Linked DNA regions of Homo sapiens: region 1 is linked to region 2. The links are contacts of gene promoters, found by promoter capture Hi-C in blood cells and fetal thymus (Javierre and others, 2016). All regions are on one chromosome and are shown on one strand. The core of a region is centred on a gene start or on the middle of the fragment in contact, and the rest is flanking DNA. Distances in the headings are between cores, read along the strand shown.

Evidence for each region. The method cuts DNA at HindIII sites, captures the fragments that hold promoters and counts their contacts. A CHiCAGO score of 5 or more calls a contact.
Region 1: a fragment that was not itself captured here is called in contact with the fragment with the promoter of PNPLA5 in region 2 in 2 of 17 cell types (M2 macrophages and megakaryocytes); the score reaches 5.7 in M2 macrophages.

The regions. Positions count from the first base shown.
Region 1 is chr22:43,379,194-43,382,323 of GRCh38, reverse strand. The region is part of intron 3 of LOC105373053 (a long non-coding RNA gene); the gene reads left to right. Among named protein-coding and RNA genes, the nearest start is that of LINC01639, 20 kb to the left of the region's middle. The HindIII fragment of the contact is 5,976 bases long and covers 1-3,130 here.
Region 2 is chr22:43,890,630-43,894,085 of GRCh38, reverse strand. PNPLA5 (patatin like domain 5, triacylglycerol lipase) reads left to right here and starts at 2,073. Exons shown (of 9, transcript NM_138814.4): 1 at 2,073-2,398; 2 at 2,792-3,024. The coding sequence starts at 2,206. The HindIII fragment of the contact is 5,727 bases long and covers 1-3,456 here.

The DNA of each region.
Region 1 (3,130 bases), core at 281-2,780, 510 kb after region 2:
CCAGGTTGCCCAGGCTGGTCTCGAACTCCTGGGCTCAAGCAATCCACCCACCTCGGCCTCTCAAAGTTCTGAGATTACAGACGTGAGCCACCACACCTGGGCCATGAAGCATTTCTTATTTGCCAATACAAGCATTTAAGATTATAAACACTCCTCTAAATACTGCTTTGGTTGGATCTCACAAGTCGTGATGCAAAACATTTTTGTGAATGCTCAATTCTAAGTATTTTCTAATTTTAGTTGTGATTTCGTTTTTGGACCGCGAGTTGTTTGGATGTACTGTTTTTCCTAAAGTACAGGCATTTGCTTGTTGTCTTTTTGGTTATTAACATCTAACTTGTTTAGATTGTGATCAGAGAATATAGTCTGTGTACACATTGTGGTGGAAGCTATGACTACAGCACAGCTTCCTCTTCCGGAACGAAGGACTTAGTCCCCCAGCTGCTGCGAGAGCTGCTGGAGGATGGCCCCCAGCTGTCTGCTCTCTTAGGAAGTTATGTGGGCTGAGGAAATTGACTTGCCCAGTCAAGACCATGCCTCCTTCAATGAGCAGCCTGCATGCAATGGCTGCTCAGGGTGAGAATGTAAAGGCCTGGTTCCTTACCAACTCACACCCTTCTGAAGGACTACCCAGCTCCAGCACTCTCTGCGGAGCTGGCAGAGGCTTCCGTGGGTATTGCATTGCTGCTCCACCTCTCCATCTGTGCAGACCTGTCTCATCCCATGCATTCCACAAGTGCTGATCCAAGGAATGTTCCCAAATAAAATTCCTGCACCCCAATCCCCATCTCAGAGCCTGACTCCCAGGAGATCCGACCTACCAGCCTGATCTTGGACGTGCATTGAGGTTAGCTTTATAGTCTATGATACTTTCCAAATGTCCCATGCATGCTTGAAAAGAATGTGTTCTCCCCCATTTCGGGGTTTCATATGCTACATGTTGATTATATGAAACTTGTCATTGTGTTCCTCAAATCTTTGATTTCTTCACCAAAATGGCCTAAAAATATCCCATCCTAAAGGTGGAGATATCTATTCTTGTCCCTTCCATTTTTGCTTTATATTTTTTGCAGCTATGATGATATTATATATAAATTGAGAACTGGTACAGCTTCCTGGTGAATTGAGCCTTCCACCATTATCTAGTGACTCTGGATCACTAGATAATGGAGTGCAATGGCACGATCTCAGCTCACTGCAACCTCCACCCCCTGGGTTCAAGCGATTCTCTTGCCTAAGCCTCCCGAGTAGCTGGGATTACAGGTGTGCACCACCACACCTGGCTAATTTTTTGTCTCTTTAGTAAAGACGGGGTTTCTCCATGTTTTTTAGGCTGGTCTCGAACTCCCAACCTCAGGTGATCCACCTGCCTCAATCTCCCAAAGTGCTGGGATTACAGACGTGAGCCACTGTGCCCGGCCACATATTTTTTCTATACTTGGACTTTCAACAGTTCTTGGTTCCTATGTTTGAGGTATGGGATTATGCTCTCTTGTAAACAGAACATAATCTCTGTTTTTAAAATTCATTCAGACAGTCATCTTTCAACTAAAGTGTTTAGTCCTTTAATATGAATTACTGACAACATAAATGTAGATTAATTTCCATGGTCTCATAATGTATTTTCTATTCATTCTATATTTCCTACCCTCAGCCCCCTTTCTAATCTTCCTTTGTATCATTTGAGATTTTTATCTTCTTTTTCTTATCCTATTTTTTCTTTCTAATTATTTAGAAGTTATCAGCTCTATGACTAGTTTTTAGTGCTTACTCTAGCTATCTTAACACTGAGCACTTAACAAAGTCTAAACTTAATATATTTGCCTTCTCCCCAAATAATGGAAAGACATTCACAACTTGAATTTTGAGCATCCGTCCCATATTATATGGTATTGTCCAGTATTTTAATACTAGCCCATTTTTCCTACCATAAGTTAGGCATTATTATCGTGGAGTCCTATACTCCGTTGTTGTTTAGTTTTCCATCAAATGTTTCCAACATATGTGCCCATTGTTCCTTCTTGTATGCCTTGCCTTTTCTCTGGAATAATTTTGATTCTGTCTGAACTACATTACATTTAAATGTGTCCTTAGTGAAGATCTTTTGGAGGTAAAATCTCACCATTTCTTTTTGTCTGAATATGTCTTCATTTCACCCTCAGTTCAGTAGGATAGTAAAGAGTTCTAAGTTGACCGTTGTTTTTTTTCCAGCACATGAAAGATATAATTCCACTGTCTCCTGGTTTCCATTGAGGATAGTGATACATCAGCTGTAAATGATCCTTTAGAGTTTTTTTGTTTGTTTGCTTGTCTTGTTTTGTTTTGGGGGGCTTTTGTTTGTTTGTTTGTTTTTGAGGCGTAGTTTCACTCTTGTTGCCCAGGCTGGAGTGCAATGGGGTGATCTCGGCTCACTGCAACCTCCGCCACATGAGTTCAAGTGATTCTCCTGCCTCAGTCTTCCCAGTAGCTGGGATTATAAGTGCCCACCGCCATGCCAGGCTAATTTTTGTATTTTTAGTAGAGACAGTGTTTCACCATGTTGGCCAGGATGGCCTTGGACTCCTGACCTCAGGTGATCTGCCCACCTCGGCCTCCCAAAGTGCTGGGATTACAGGTGTGAGCCACGGCGCCTAGCCAGATGCTTTCAACATCTCTTTTTCTCTGATGTTCCATAGTTTTCTTGGGATGTATGTAAATGTGAATTTCTTTTTATTTATCTTGCTTGGGATTCACTGGGCTTCCTGGATCTGAGATTTGTTATGTATAATTTCACAAAAGTATCAGCCATTACCTCTTCGTGTATTGCCCGTTCTCCTATTCTGTTAGCTCCTTCTAGAACTCTAAATACACGTACATTAGGCCCTGCCACTTAATTTTTCTGGATAATTCCTTTGGTTCTACTAGCTTATTAAACCTCTCTTTGGCTGTGTGTAATCTGCTGCTCGCTCTGCTCATTTCAAATTTCAAATGCTACATTTTTCACTTCTGTACATTTTATTTGATTCTTTTTCAAATCTGGTTGTTCCTTTTTTTTTTTTTTTTTTTTTTTTTTTTTTAGATGGAGTCTTCCTCTGTCTCCCAGGCTGGAGTGCAAATGGCACGATCTCGGCTCACTGCAACCTCTGCCTCC
Region 2 (3,456 bases), core at 824-3,323:
GGGGGCCTCAGACAGCCCACACCAAAATGCAAGACCCAATTCCTGAAGCATCAAGCACGCAGAAACTCAGCCTGGCTCCAGGCCTTACGCTTCCTCCCACAGCCCCGCACCACCTGCCCTCACCGCCATGACTGCTCTCTCCCGCTGGCTGGCTTCTCACTCCTCCCTACTCCTCCCTGCCTGGTGCCTTTGCTCAAACTCTTCCCTCTGTGCCCATCTCCCTTTCTCCCCGTGGTGAACCCTTGATCGACCTCCAAGGTCCTGCTCAAACCTTGCTTTTTCTCCGAAACCTCCGGAACATGTCCCTGCTGAACTCCCAGCCCCTGAACTCCTCCCTTCCTGAACTCACACTGGTGGTCCACTGTTCCAGGGAGGCTCAGTCTGCCTCCGGCACAGTCACAACTGTGGGTGAAATGTTCCTGGCTGTGCCTGCTGTGACCTGGTTCCCTCCTGGAGCAGAGTCAGCACATGGCTTCTAATTACCCCCTGCAGCTGGGGCTGGGTCCTTCCCGCAATGGAGATAGCCTGGGGTACCTGCCACCAGGTGGGTGAGTCTGTGCAGGCCCATGGTCTTTGAGGCAAGGATGCCGCCCCTGGTGTGGGATCAGCAAAGCCCGGTACCGCCCACCTCTGTGGGAGGGGAGGCTGGGCTGGCCTGTCCCAGGGTGCCTTCTGCACCCAGTGCCCATGGGCAAGCTGCCCTTCACTCCCAGGTCAAGGAAGAGGTAGGTGTGAGGCTAAGAGAAGCAGATCCTCCCACCTCTTCCTCCGAAAATGACCCACCCAGGCCATGGGCTGAGCATTCAGTCCACAAACACTGTGCCACACTTCTTCCAGGCACAGATGGAGGACCTGGCCCTCAAGGAGCTCACATGAGAAGGCACTGATATGTGCCATGTGATTAAAGCAGTAACACAGGGATGGGCGCAGTGGCTCCTGCCTGTAATCCCAGCACTTTGGGAGGCTGAGGTGGGCAGATCATCTGAGGCCAGGAGTTCGAGACCAGCCTGAGCAGCATGGTGAAACCCTGTCTCTACCGAAAATAACAAAAATTAGCTGGGCGTGGTGGTGCGTGCCTGTAGTCCCAGCTACTTGGGAGGCTGAGGCAGGATAATTGCTTGAACCTGGGAGGTGGTGGTTGCAGTAAGCCGAGATTGTGCCACTGCACCCCAGCCTGGGTGACAGAGTGAGACTCTGCCTCAAAATTAAATAAATAAATAAATAACATAGCGGTTGCCATTGATTGTGCGCCACTTGATTAAAACAATCACCGTAGTAACCATTGTTTGTGTGCTTATCCAGTGCCGGGCGCTATTCCAAACACGTTACTTGCATTAACTCTAATCCTTACCGGTCCTATGGAGTAAGTAATGTTATTATCCCCACTTGATGGATGAGAAAACTGAGGCACAGATCAGTTAAATTATCCAGGGTCACCAGCCAAGACATTCTGGAGCCAGAATTGGAGCCCAGACAGCCCTAATCACTACAAACCCAAGTTCTTGGAGCTTTGCAGTTTATAAAGCACTTTCCAATGGATTGATTAGGGGAGGAGGGAGGAGGTGGGATGTTTGAGCAGGCTGTAGTGGTAGGTGAGGCTTGGAGAGCGGGTGAGCCAGGGGAAGGTGCAGTGGTGCTGGCTGGAGCGGAGGCTGGCCCCGAGACCTCTCTTTCCCTCAAGTCCCTCCCTGGAACCAGCACAGCTGCGGACTTAAGCCTGGTTTGACCCCAAAGACCAGGTGTCCTGGGTCCGACTCTGCCACTTCCTGGCTGTCACCATCCTGGGCTGCGCCTCAGTTGCCTCATTTGCGTAATGAGGACTGGAATAACATCTGCCCAGACTACCAGAGATCAGGCAAGATTTGGTCCCACTCCCCTGCCGTGTCACCCAGAAATCTATGACCCGATGCGGATCCGGGGCGGGCGCGTGGGGGCGGCGCCAGCGTATACACAGCGCGCGGGCACTTCTGGGGCACACCTGGCGCACAACTGGAGTGGGGGCTGATCGCGACCCGGGGACTTCATTGGCTGGGGCGCAGGTGACGCAGCCCGGGGGCGGCGCAGGGAGCACCAGCACCAGCCCCAGCCCGGCTCCCTCCAGAGCCCACATTTGGGCCCAGCCCCGTCCAAGGCTGCATCCCGGCCCTATCCCGGGTCACGGAGTGACCCTTCCTCGTCCCGATCACCCCGCCCGGTCCACCCGCCATGGGCTTCTTAGAGGAGGAGGGCAGATGGAACCTGTCCTTCTCCGGCGCCGGCTACCTGGGCGCCCACCACGTGGGCGCCACCGAATGCCTGCGCCAGCGAGCCCCGCGCCTCCTCCAGGGCGCCCGCCGCATCTACGGTTCCTCGTCTGGGGCGCTCAACGCAGTCAGCATCGTCTGCGGCAAGTCGGTCGGTGAGTCCCGGACCGCGGGGGCGAAAAGGGGCGGGGACAGCTTAATGAAAGCGGATCGAGCCCAGAGACGCTGGTGCCTGGCGCTGTGCTCTGCGCCCTCTACCCCCGGCACAGCCTCATTTAATCCCATGAGAACACCGAGTGCTGGGGACTAGGTGACCCCCATTTGCAGAGGAGGGATCGTGGCTCAGAGCCAGAAACTCTGTTTCCCAGGTCGGCGGGGCAAAAAGTGAAAAGGTGAACGGATCATTTGAATCCGGGGCCGAGCCCAGAAATTCTGAGCTGGAGTGGGGAGGACCCCGCTCCCACTGCACCTAGGAGGGCAGTGGGGGTGTGGAGGGACTGGCAGGATCCCTGGGCGCTGAGGTCTCCCTTTCCCTGCCCCCACTGCAGACTTCTGCTGCTCCCACCTCCTGGGCATGGTTGGGCAGTTGGAGCGGCTGAGCCTAAGCATCCTGCACCCGGCCTACGCGCCCATCGAGCACGTCAAGCAGCAGCTGCAGGATGCTCTGCCCCCCGACGCCCACGTCCTGGCCTCCCAGCGGCTGGGCATTTCGCTGACCCGCTGGCCTGACGGACGCAACTTCTTGGTCACTGACTTCGCCACCTGCGATGAGCTCATCCAGGTGTGGGGCGGGGGGTGCCCAGGGCTTGGCTGGTGGGCGGGCTCCATCTAGTCCAGAGTGACATCCAGGTACTTCCCCGTCAGACGTTTCTGCAGGGGCGGAAGGAGGGAGGGCGGGTGGACCTGTTTGTAGGTGAGGAAACTGAGGCCCAGAGAGGGTCGGCAGGGTGGGTCTGGAGACTTTCCAGGTTGCTGCACACAGAAGGGTCTGGCTGGGGCCCGGCAGAGTCAGGCTGCTGAGTCAGGGCCCCCACAGGGACTGCTCTTTCCAGAGGGCAGCTGGCTAGCCCCAGCCTCCACCCCACTCCATCCTCCCGCCGCTTTTTGGCGGTGGGTTGACATTTATTGAACACCTATTATGTGCCAGTCACTATTCTAGGCACTGTGACTGTAACAGGGAGCAAAACAGACAGAAACCCTTGCCTTCCTGGGG